Linked DNA regions of Homo sapiens: region 1 is linked to region 2. The links are contacts of gene promoters, found by promoter capture Hi-C in human tissues and cell types (Jung and others, 2019). All regions are on one chromosome and are shown on one strand. Each heading gives the region's core, a stretch centred on a gene start or on the middle of the fragment in contact. The rest is flanking DNA. Distances are from core to core; before and after follow the strand shown.

Evidence for each region. The method cuts DNA at HindIII sites, captures the fragments that hold promoters and counts their contacts. A contact is called where the count stands out against the background at its distance.
Region 1: a contact is called between a fragment that was not itself captured here and the fragment with the promoter of A2ML1 in region 2, in 4 of the 25 tissues and cell types used here (H1 embryonic stem cells, adrenal gland, aorta and 1 more).

What each region holds. Positions count from the first base shown.
Region 1 is chr12:8,734,619-8,740,871 of GRCh38, reverse strand. The region is part of intron 2 of RIMKLB (ribosomal modification protein rimK like family member B); the gene reads right to left. Among named protein-coding and RNA genes, the nearest start is that of RIMKLB, 40 kb to the right of the region's middle. The HindIII fragment of the contact is 5,464 bases long and covers 373-5,836 here.
Region 2 is chr12:8,819,119-8,825,656 of GRCh38, reverse strand. It overlaps A2ML1 (alpha-2-macroglobulin like 1), which reads right to left and starts at 3,036. Exons shown (of 36, transcript NM_144670.6): 1 at 2,944-3,036; 2 at 2,292-2,475; 3 at 1,775-1,937. The coding sequence starts at 3,005. The region is part of intron 1 of A2ML1-AS1 (A2ML1 antisense RNA 1); the gene reads left to right. RefSeq lists a silencer at 5,990-6,284. The HindIII fragment of the contact is 7,738 bases long and covers 1,418-6,538 here.

The DNA of each region.
Region 1 (6,253 bases), core at 1,855-4,354, 85 kb after region 2:
TGAACTCCTGACCTCAAGTGATCTGCCCACCTCAGCCTCTCAAAGTGCTGGGATTATGGGCATGAGCTAACACATCCAGTCGGGTTCTCCTATTTTTAAGAGTAGCTCAGTTATCACTGTTAGGTCAAACAACCATGAGAATTCTCTAAGTGCATGTCAATTGTAGAGAAAACAGCAAAAGTAGACATATGCTCTTTAAAATATTAATAAAGAATAAAGCATCTTCCTGGAGTTGGAGACCATTATTTTAAGTGAAGTAATTCAGGAAAGAAAAGTCAAACATCGTATGTTCTCACTTACGAGTGAGAGCTACGCTATGAGGACGCAAAGGCATAAGAATGATATAATGGACTTTGGGGACTCAGGGAGAAGAGTGGGAGGGGGTGAGGGATAAAAGACTACACACTGGGTACAGTGTACACTGCTTGGATGATGGGTGCACCCATCTGAGAAACCACCACTAAAGAACTTACCCATGTAACCAAACACCACCTGTTCTCCAAAAACTACTGAAATAAAAAACACTGTAAAAAATAAGTCTATAATGACCATCGGGGAAAAAAGTATTCTAAAAGAGGGGACACAAAATAGAATGTGTTGTTATTCACCATGTTGGTATTATTATTTACCGTATCAAAGAATTCAGAAACTAGAAAATACAAATATGGCTGGGTGTGGTAGCTTACACTTATAATCCCAGCACTTTGGGAGGACGAGGCAGGCAGACCACTTGAGGTGAGGAGTCTGAGACCAGCCTGGCCAACATGGTGAAACCCTGCCTCTACTAAAAATATAAAAATTAGCCAAACGCAGTGGTGAGCGTCTGTAATCCCAGCTACTGGGGAGGCTAAGGCAGAACTGCTTGAACCCAAGAGGCGGAGGTTGCTGTGAGCTGAGATTATGCCACCACACCCCCAGCCTGGGTGACAGAGCGAGACCCTGTCTGGGAAAAAAAGAGAAAATATAAATACATCAGTCATCATTTCAATGTTTGTGTCCCCCAAAATGTTAAGTGTTGAAATCCTAACCCTCAATGTGATGACACAAGGAGGTAGAGCTCTCATCAATGGGATTAGTGCCTTTATAAGAAGAGACAAGAAGCCAAGTGTGGTGGCTCACACCTGTTAACTCCACTTTGGAAGGCCGAGGCAGGAGGGTCGCTTGAGCCCAAGGAGTTCAAGATCATCCTGAGCAACATGGTGTGACCTCGTCTCTACAAAAAAATTTTTAAAAATCAGTCCAGCATGATGGCATATGCCTATAGCCCCAGCTACTCAGGAGGCTGAAGCAGTAGGATAGCTTGCACCTATGAGGTTCAAGCTGAGCTGTGATTGCATCATTGCGCACCAGCGTGGGTGACAGGCCCTGTCTCAAAAAAAGAAAAGAGATGGCCCTGCATGGTGGTACACACCTGTAATCCCAGCACTTTGGGAGGCCAAGGTGGGATGATCACTTGAGTCCAGGAGTTCAACACCAGCCTGGGCAACATAGTGAGAACTCATCTCTCTAAGAAAAATAATTTTTAAAAAGAAAGGAAGAGATGAGAGCTTGTACACATGCTTTCTTGTGCACGTGCTCTCTCTCTTCTCCATGTAAGGACACAGCAAGACGGCCATCTGCAAACCAGGAAGTGGGCCCTCATCAGAAACAAATCTGCCAGTACCTTGATATCGAACTTACCAGCCTCCAGAACACTGTTCTTCAGAACAACAGAAACAATTTCTGTTGTTTAAGCTATCCAGTCTATGGTAATTTGTTATAGCAGCCCAAACTAAGATCATCAATTTAAAAAAGTCTTTTCTAGAAGCAAGACTTTCAGAATGGTGGAATGAAAAGGCATTTTTCTAGCTCACCAGCAATACTAGAATCCTAAGTGTTAACCTCAAATGTGACAAAGCTGTATGGTAGATCTCTAATTCACAGAGAAGGAACTGTCCTTGTCTGTCTTACCACACACAAACTACCAAGATCTCTTAAATGTTCTGATGGAATGGACTATTCCAACAAAACTACTAACTCAGAAACTATCCAGTTGAGAAGTAACATGCCAGTCACTTTTTGTAACATCTTCCATCTATATAAATGAAATTTCTTGGAGCTTCCCTCACCAATTAGCTTGGCTGGGGGACGGGGGGTATCACTCCTCCCACCCATTCCCCATGAACACTGTAATTCTCAATAAGAAAACTACAACTTTTCTCTCTACTCTCCTTTTCTTATTTAGACTAAATACATTTTTGCAATCGTGTTGTGTGTGTGTAATCAGACAAAAAGATTTAAAAGTCTTATGAAATAATGAATAGTCAAGAAGAAAACATCACGGATGACCATACAAATACTGTCCAGGAAAGAAGACATTTTAATGGACTTCACATAGGTCATTACTTCAGGCCTTGGTTACTGCATTTTCAAAATGAGTTCTAAGAAACAGCTCGTTATTACTACATCAACTTTTTATGAAGAATGCTATTTTAAGCTTTGCGTTCTCCAGCAGAAACACTTAGGATGTATATTCAAAAACCATTAATTGCACGGTGTGGTGGTTCATCCCTGTAATCCCAGAACTCCAGGAAGTTGAGGCAGGCAGACTGCTTGAACCTCAGGAGTTCCAAGGTAGGCTAGGCAACATAGCAAAACTCTGTCTCTACAAAAAAATACAAAACTTAGCTGGGCACAGTGGTACATGCCTGTAGTTCCAGCTACTCAAGAGGCTCGGCTTGGGATCACCTGAGGCCAGGTAGGTCGAGGCTCCCACTGTCCCTAACCCTGACAATTTAAGCAAAATGAATAGTGACAGTAATGGATTATAATTTTTTGAATGAGACCATAAATCCAGAAGATAATAGAGAAAATTCATGGGCCAGGCGCAGTGGCTCACACCTGTAATCCTAGCACTTTGGGAGGCCGAGGCAGGCGGATCACCTGAGGTCATGAGTTCGAGACCAGTCTGACCAACATGGAGAAACTCCGTCTCTACTAAAAATACAAAATTAGCCGGGCGTGGTGGCGCATGCCTGTAATCCCAGCTACTTGGAAGGCTGAGGGAAGAGAATCGCTTGAAGCTGTGAGGCAGAGCTTATGGTGAGCCAAGATCACGCCATTGCACTGCAGCCTGGGCAACAAGAGTGAAACTCATCTCCAAAATAAAAAAGAGAGAGAGAGAAAATCCTTCCTTACAGTACAATACCAACTAATAAATACAGAATGAATAATAGAGATGAGGGGGGGAAAATCCATTTTGTAACAACATCATAATTGATTGAGGCAAGATTCATCAATGGAGGCTAAAACTATTCAAAGTCTGATATAAAAATAGGATATTTACAGTCTCAATCTCCCCACATATTATTAATAAAGAAAAACACTATATCTATATAGTAAGGAAACTTGGAAGACCTTAACCAAGTAATCAAATGTTGAGAAAAATGGGTATATGCCTCCTGATCTAAAGAATTATGAAGTACAGCATTTCACTTATGTGATATTCTTACCAAAAATGCATAACCTAACTCTAATCCTTAGTATATATCAGACAAATCCAAACTGAGGGACATTCTGCAGAAAAGCTCACTTGTACTCTACAAAAATGTCAAAAAAGACACAGGCAAAAAAAAAAAAAAAGTCATGATTAAAGGAAACTAAAGACACATGACAAATACAATGTGTGATCTTGAAATCCTGGATAAAGGAGAAAAAAATGCTAAAATGATATAGCTATTTTTGAGTATGAACTATATATTAGTTAATAGTAATTAATAAGGCTGGGCACGATGGCTCACGTCTGTAATACCAGCACTTTGGGAGGCCAAGGCGGGAGGATCACCTGAGGTTAGGAGTTCAAGACCAGCCTGGCCAACATGGTGAAACCCCGTCTCTACTAAAAATACAAAAAATTAGCTGGGCGTGGTGGCACATGCCTGTAATCCCAGCTACTTGAGAGGCTGAGGCAGGAGAACTGCCTGAACGCGGGAGGCAGAAGCTGCAGTGAGCAGAGATCGTGCCATTGCATTCCAGCCTGGGCAAGAAGAGCGAAACTCCGTCTCAAAAAAGAAAGTAATTAATAGCAGTATTAAAATTCCTGAAACTGGCTGGGTGAGGTGGCTCACATCTATAATCTCAGCACTTTGGGAGGCTGAGGCAGTTGGGATTGCTTGAGCCCAGGAGTTCAAGACCAGCCTGGATAACATAATGAAATACCTCATCTCCACAAAAAACAAACAAAAATTAGTTGGGTGTCATGACACACACCTATACTCCTACCCAGGGAGGTCAACGTTGCAGTGAGCTGTGATCACACCACTGCACTCCAGCCTGGGAGACAGAGCAAGACCCGTCAAAAAAAAAAAAAAAAAAAGGAAATACATGCTTAAGAATTTGGGGCACCTTGATCTAAATAGCTCAGAAAACAAACAAACAAACTACACGGAGTGGCAAAGCAAATGTGGCCAAATATTAACAATGGGTGAAAACTGAATAAACAGTATATACGAGCTATTTGTATTATTTTTGCAACATCTCTATAAATTTCCAACTATTTCAAAATAAAAAGTTCTTAAAAGAAAGACAAAGCTAGTAGACTTTTCATTTTAACTGCTTGGAGAAAGAAATTACCCAGCCTCCCTAAATAGCACCTTATAAAAAGAAAATAATTTTCAAGCAGACACCAAACTTGTAGCTTTCTAAAATTAGGCCCATCCTTAAAACTAAAATAGAACTAACAATGGTTTTCCACTCCAAAACTGGAAAACACTACCATGTGAGGAAGAAATCTTTCAGTTGTAACAAAATTGGTTAACTTGCTGCACTGAAGAGATTAATACAGACAATAAAAAGTCTAAAATTAGGCCAGGGCAGTGGCTCACACCTGTAATCCCAGCACTTTGGGAGGCTGAGGCAGGCAGATCACCTGAGGTCGGGAGTTTGAGACCAGCCTGACTAACATGAAGAAACCCTGTCTCTATTAAAAATACAAAATTAGCGGGGCGTGGCAGTGCATGCCTGTAATCCCAGCTACTCAGGAGGCTGAGGCAGGAGAATTCCTTGAACCTGGGAGGCAGGGGTTGCAGTGAGCCGGGATCCCGCCATTGCACTCCAGCCTGAGCAATAAGAGCGAAACTACGTCTTAAAAAACAAACAGACAGACAAAAAAAAAAACGAAGAAAGTCTAAAATCAATAACCATTCCCATAAATATGTCATTAAACAAAAACAGGCAAAAGTTCAGTGAATAAAGTTTTAAAATTTTTGACCCAAAGCTAATTATGTATCTCATCTACTTAGCAATACTTCCCCTCTGTTTTAAAGCTTAATCTCTTGGTATTTACATTAAAAAAAAAAAATTTAGGCTGAGCACAGTGGCTCACGCCTATATTCCCAGAACTTTGGGAGGCTGAGGCTGGCAGATCACCTGAGGTCAGGAGTTCGACACCAGCCTGGCCAACATGGCAAAGCCCCGTCTCTACTAAAAATACAAAAATTAGCTGGGCATGGTGGTGTGCGCCTGTAGTTCCAGCTACTTTAGAAGCTGAGGCAGGAAAATCACTTGAACCCAGGAGGTAGAGGATGCAATGGGCCAAGATTGTGGCAATGCATTCCAGCCTGGGCAACAAAGCAAGGATCCATGTAAAAAAGAAAAAAAAAAATTTTAGCCTGCTTGATAAATATTGCTGCCTGATAAGTAGGCAGCAATACCCCACAGCTGACATCATTACCAAATATTCTGCAGCTCTCTGACCAAGGAAAACAAAATTTTTGATTTGACCTACAAACTTTCTGTACCCATATAAGGACAGTTTTTCTTATTGCCTATTAGATGAAATTTAAGAAATATAATCCAGAAGATGACAGAAGCGAGAAAACTACCTCAATTCTCCTCATTTTCCCCTGAAGTGAAATTTCTGATCCTTAATGTATTATTTGCTTAGCTGACATCAAGTCTCATAAAAGGACTACAAAGAACTCCAAAGGTTTTAACCAATGGCTAACTGGAACATCGAAGATAGAATTCAGTTTGCCTCTTGGCATTTATTACTTTCTCCATCTGGAAGATGCTTTTTATTTTAAATAAATAAATATATCTATTTTTATAAAATAATTTGGAATACAAGTTAACCCCTTCCTACTTCCTGTGTTGAATTAGTTAATAAAAAGAAACAACTAAAATAAACTTTGAGAAGCTACACAATACTATGGGCAAGTAAAACATGACAACATCTAAACCCAGTGGCCACCAACAAAAACAAAATCAAGGATTT
Region 2 (6,538 bases), core at 1,787-4,286:
TCTTGAGTAATACCCAAGGAGCACAAGAAACCAAAGCAAAAATGGACAAACAGGATCACATCAAGTTAAAAAGCTTCTGCACAGCAAAGGAAACAATCAACAAAGAGACAACCCACAGAATGAAAGAAAATATTTGCAAACTACCCATCTGACAAGGGATTAATAACCAGAATATATAAGGAGCTCAGACAGCTGTATAGGAAAACATCTAGTAATCAGATTAAAGAACGGGCAAAAAGATCTGAATAGACATTTCTCAAAAGAAGACATACAAATGGCAAACAGGTATATAAAAAAGGTGCTCAAATCATTGACTGTCAGAGAAATGTAAATCAAAACTACAATGAGATATTATCTCACCCCAGTTAAAATGGCTTTTTTCCAAAAGACAAACAATAATAAATGCTGGTGAGGATGTGGAGAAAAGAGAACCCTCATACACTGTTGGTGGGAATGTAAATTAGTACAACCACTATGGAGAACAGTTTGGAGGTTTCTGAAAAAAACTAAAAATAGAGCTTCCATATAATCCTGCAAGCCCACTGCTAAGTATATATACAAAAGAAAGGAAATCAGTATATCAAAGACTATCTGTGCTGCCATGTTTATGGCATCAGTATTCACAATAGCCAAGATATGGAAGCAACCTAAGTGTCTATGAACAGATGATAAAAAATGGATTAAAAAATGTGGTACACATACATAATGGAGTACTATTCAGCCATAAAAAAGAATGAGACCCCATCCTTTGCAACAGCCTGAATGGAACAGGAGGTCATTATGTTAAGTAAAATAAACCAGACACAGAAAGACAAACTTTCCATGTTCTCATTTATTTGTGGGAGCTAAAAATTAAAACAATTGAAGTCGTGGAGATAGAGAATAGAATAATAATTTTTAAGTGTGTGGAAAAAAATAAGGTAAAAGGAAAAAAATTTTTTTGAAAGAGAGAGAGAGAACAGAATGATGGTTACCAGATGCTGGGAAGGGTAATGGTGGGCAGGATGAGGGGTGGGGTGGGAATGGTTAATGGGTACAAAAATATATTTAGCTAGAATGAATAAGATCTAGGGATCTTGTAGTTTTTAGCACAAAGAGTGACTACAGTCAACAATAATTTATTGCACATTTAAAAATTACTAAGAGAGTATAATTGGATTGTTTGTAATACAAGGAAATGATAAATGCTTGAGGTGATGGATACACATGTACCCTGATGTAATGATTACACATTGTGTGTGTGTATAAAAATATCTCATCTACCCCATAAATATATATACACCAGCTATGTACCCACAAAAATTTTAAATAAAAAAATAAAAAAAACCCAAACATAGTTTCTTTTCAGGGTGCCTGACTTTGAAATCTCAGAATGAAGTGCCCCTGTAAGGACGAATGAACAAATACAAAAAAAAAAAAAAAAAAAAAAAAAAACCCCAGTAGCTCAAGCCAAATGCCCTCAGTGCTTTCTTAGCCATTTACAAGCAGTTTGTTGTAAGGCCCAGCAACCCAGTTATACTTGCCAAATTCTATTCCAGAAGAAATGTGTACTTTTGTTTTAGATACACAAACTCAGTAGCAACCCCCACCTACTTCTCTTGCTTGTGTAGCGCAGCATGTATTCAACACTTGCACTACTTAATCCCCCCAGATTTTCCTCTCCTCTGCACTCCTTTTTTTCCAAAGCCTACTGTCAAACCACAAATCCCCTCTTTACCCCTGTGCACAGCGGTTTCCCCAGGTTTTAGTCGAACCCCAAATATGTGACTCTTACCTTGCTGCCCTGGGGTGTAGAGAGGTTTGTCAGTCTGTACAAAGGTGCCGTTCCCCTGCCTCTGAATTAGAACCTTTTTCTTCTCCTCAAAGCTGATGTTATTTCCAACTCCCGACACCCGGATTGTGGCCACTTCTTCTGTGCCACCAGCAGGAGGTGGTACCTGACCAAGAAAGGGGACTTCTGGGGAGGGGTAAGGGATTGGGGGAACAGAATCAACTGGTCTCAACCCAACAGTGAGTTAAAGGAAAGAGCTGAGTTAGATGGGGGTAGCAAGGATAGAGACATAAAACAAATTACCACGAGGAAGAATTAAGGTCAGGAACTAAAGGGAGAAATCCTAGGTCGAGGAAACCGTGGGTGAGTTATAGCCGGGGATTGAGGTTAAGTTGAGAAAAAATAGGTTTAGAGGCCGTGGCAAAAGATAACAGAAATTATACTTAAAGTAGATTATAGTGAGCCTAGGGAGGAGAATAGGCAAGTAAGGGATTCGAGTGAGGGCTGAGTCTGTGCTTACAAGAAAGGAGATACAATGTAAGTGCCTCTTCTTCAGTCCAGAGTATTCTAGCAACTTCTGGGTCTTGTCCTTGGTCTCCAGAGTAACCGTGAATTTAACATCACTGTACCCAGGGCTCAGGTCCAAACAAACCTTCTGAACGGAGGGGAAATTTAGCCGGGCTGGTAATGTCACCAGGTAGTTTCTATTAAAGGAGCAGAAGGATTTCAGGGCAATAATGATTCATTCACTCGAAAAATCCAGCACTCTCCTAAGCGCTCAGCAAGTAGCAGTGAATTAGACAGACCAAGCCCCTGCCTTCCTTATGCACCTCATTTTCTACAAGAAGCAGAGGGGCAACGACTCAGTGCACAGTCTTCAACTTCCGCCATCAGGAGGCCCTCACCGAGCACACATGCCTAGAGCACCAAGGAGGAAATTAGGCCTATTTCAGAAAACAGGGCACATTTTAATATTTATCTTTTTTAAAGCTTCCTCTTCATGCGTCAGCCTCCCTCTCTGGGTAAAGGATCAGTGGAACCAAAGAAGAGAAAAAAGGAGGAGGAAATTAAGATAAACCAAAGTTGATCTCCCCATCTCCATATAAATGTTTGAGAAAGTTAGGCGAAGAAGCCGCTGCCCTAATAAACCAATTCTGACACCAAGCACTCACGGAAGTTCTTCTGCAATGGCTGGTGATAGGGCCAACATTCCTAGAAGGAGCTGAGCCCACATCTTTGTGGGTGAGACAGATTTTTCCAGGGTCAGGGGCAGAGATCGCTCCGCGTAGCTTTATATACTAATTCCAGGTAGGGTGTGCAGTGATGACTGATGCTATAGTCAGTCACCTCCTGGCACCTGGAACACAGGAGGACTGTGTTCCTCCTTCTGTAACCACCAGGTTAGGTGGTGGACCAGGGTAGGGCCACTATTCACTTCTTTAAAGTTGTTTCTGCCTGGAACATCCATACTGGTTCAGCCAGTTTTGGGGGAAAACCAGAGCTGAGTATTCATAATGGTAAAGCTCTCAGAACATATTTTGAACTCCTCCCTTTTTTTCTGGTCTCATTCCAATTCCTGTTCTCATTTAATGTCCTTATTTTCTTTTATTATTCAATTAAGGTGTAGTTGGGAACACGGGTATGAGAACAGTTTCAATAGAAAAGCAGTAAACTTGGCCGGTCACAGTGGCTCACGCCTGTAATCCCAGCACTTTGGGGGGTTGAGGTGGGCAGATCACCAGGTCAGGAGTTCAAGACCAGCCTGGCCAACATAGTGAAACCCTGTCTCTACTAAAAATACAAAGAAAAAAAAATCAGCTGGGCATAGTGGTGGGTGCCTATAGTCCCAGCTACTTGGGAGGCTGAGGCAGGAGAATCGCTTGAACCCGGGAGGTGGAGGTTGCAGTGAGCCGAGATCATGCCACTTTACTCCAGCGTGGGTGACACAACGAGACTCTGTCTCAAAAAAAAAAAAAATTAATACTACTCAGTATTGTTGTGACTGTATGGAAATAGGGACACACACAGTCCTAGAGAAAATAGAATGTGGATAACTTTCTCATGGCAATTTTGTAATACACACCAAAGCCTTTGAGATTTGCATATTCTTTCACTCAGCAACTCCTACTCTGGAAATGTTTCTTAATGAGGAAAAAAAGGACAGCATGCATGTATGCACAAGTGTAACACTGAGTTTTTTCACACTGTTCTTTCTTTTTTTTCTTTTCTTTATTTTTTATTTTTTTGAAGTAGAGTCTCACTTTATCACCCAGGCTGGAGTGCAGTGGCACAATCTCAGCCCACTGCAGCTTTGACCTCCTGGGCTCAAGCGATCCTCCCACCTCCACCTCCTGAGTAGCTGGGACCACAGGTAGGCACCAACACTCCTGGCTAATTGTTTTGTATTTTTAATAGAGACAGGGTTTCACCATGTTGCCCAGGCTAGTCTCGAACTCCTGAGCTCCAGGGACCACCTCAGCCTCCCAAAGTGCTGGGATTACAGGTATGAGCCACCGTGCCCAGCCCACAGTGTTCTTTATGATGGTAATACTTAGAAGTCACCTAAAATATAAATTAGTCTAAGTGCAGTGGCTCATGCCTATAATCCCAGCTTTTGGGAGTCAGAAGCTGGAGGATTGCTTGAGCCCAAGAGTTTGAGACCAGCCTGGGCAACATAGTGAGACCCCGTTTTGTAACCACCCAATGGATTCACCTTGCTTGCTGCCTAGACAGAGCCGATTTATCAAGACAGGGGAACTGCAATGGCAAAAGAGTAATTCACGCAGAGCCGGCTGTGTGGGAGACTGGAGTTTTATTATTACTTAAATCCTTGAGCCTTCGTGGATCAGAGTTTTTAAAGATAATTTGGCAGGTAGGGGCTTGGGAAGTGGGGAGTGCTGATTGCTCAGGTTGGAGATGGAATCATAGAGGGTCGAAGTTAGATTTTCTTAATGTCTTCTGTTCCTGGGTGAGATGGCAGAACTGGTTGGGCCAGATGACTGGTCTGTGTGGTGTCAGCTGATCCCATGGAGTGCAGGGCCTGCAAAATAACTCAATTACTGATCTTAGGTTTTACAGCAGTGATGTTATCCCCAGGAGCAATTTGGGGAGGTTCAGACTCTTGGAGCCAGAGGCTGCATGACCTCTAAACTGTAATTTCTTTTTTTTTTTTTTTGAGACAGAGTCTGGCTCTACCGCCCAGGCTGAAGTGCAATGGCGCGATCTCGGCTCACTGCAAGCTCCGCCTCCCGGGTTCACGCCATTCTCCTGCCTCAGCCTCCCGAGTAGCTGGGACTACAGGCGCCCGCCACCACGCCCGGCTAATTTTTTGTATTTTTAGTAGAGACGGGGTTTCACCGTGTCAGCCAGGATGGTCTCGATCTCCTGACCTCGTGATCCGCCCGCCTTGGCCTCCCAAAGTGCTGGGATTACAGGCGCGAGCCACTGCACCCGGCCTCTAAACTGTAATTTCTAATCTTGTAGCTAATCTGTTAGTCCTACAAAGGCAGACTGGACCCCGGGCAAGAAGGGGGTCTTTTTGGGAAAGGGCTGTTATCAATTTTGTTTCAGAGTCAAACCATGAACTGAATTCCTTCCCAAAGTTACTTCGGCCTATGCCCAGGAATAAACAAGGACAGCTTAAGGGTTAGAAGCAAGATAGAGTCGGTTAGGTCTGACTTCTTGCACTGTCATAATTTCCTGTTACAATTTTGCAAAGGCAGTTTCAGTCTGTATAAAACATTTCTTTAAAATTAGCTGAGTGTGGTGGTGCACGCCTGTAGTCCCAGCTACTCTGGAGGCTGAGATGGTAGGATTTGCTTGAGCCCAGGGGTTCAAGGCTGCAATGAGCCATGATAGCACCACTGCACTCCAGCCTGGGCAACAGTGAGAACTTGTCTCATAAAATAAAATAATAAAATAGATTAGCCAGGATGCTCTCTGGGACCAATGATCATCCTATATCAAACCAGCCTAAACAAAAAAGTGTTTTTGGTAACTGGAATGGATCCAACAGGAAGAATGAGCTTATGGAACCAGAGCACCTTGAAAAACTTGACAGCCCAGGAGTGGAGACGTGGTGCAGCCAGGGCCGACTCCTCCCAGTCCTTCTCTCTTGTGTACTTGTCTCTGATTGGTTCATTTTCTCCTACTGCACACAAGCTTTTCTTCAAGTCGTAGGGAGGACGGCAGCTGGGAGCCCTCAAGCCATATTCGTTCAGCTCCACGACCCCAACTGACAAAATTTTTCACCTATGTTATAGAAATTCCCGAAGAAGGACTGTGTTCCTCCCTCTCTCGCTGGCTCACCTCTGAATCAGTCACTGTAGTCAGGAGGGTATGATAGGCAGGGCCTGGGTCATTCTCCCACCTAAAGGCCAGGGTGATGGGGTACTGTGATTGGCCACCCCTTTAGAACCACAGGGAGTTGGGGAGGGGAAATTGTTCAAAGAAATCACTACAGTAGGAAAAGTGTTGGTGTAAAGAGCTGCAAACATAAAACATTAAGTCTATTACAATGCCCCATAAAGAGTTCGGTTGAATAAACTGTCATGTTAATATAAAGCAATACTCTGCTGCCATTAAAAATAATGTTTTCATGATAAGGGGAATTATTTGCAATGCTAATTGAAAGGGGTTGGGGCTGGTGCAGCGGCTCACACCTGTAATCCCAGCACTTTGGGAGGCCGATCCGTAGGAGCTCGAGACCAGCCTAGTCAACATGGCGAAACCCTGTCTCTCCCAAAAATACAAAAATTAGCCAGGCAT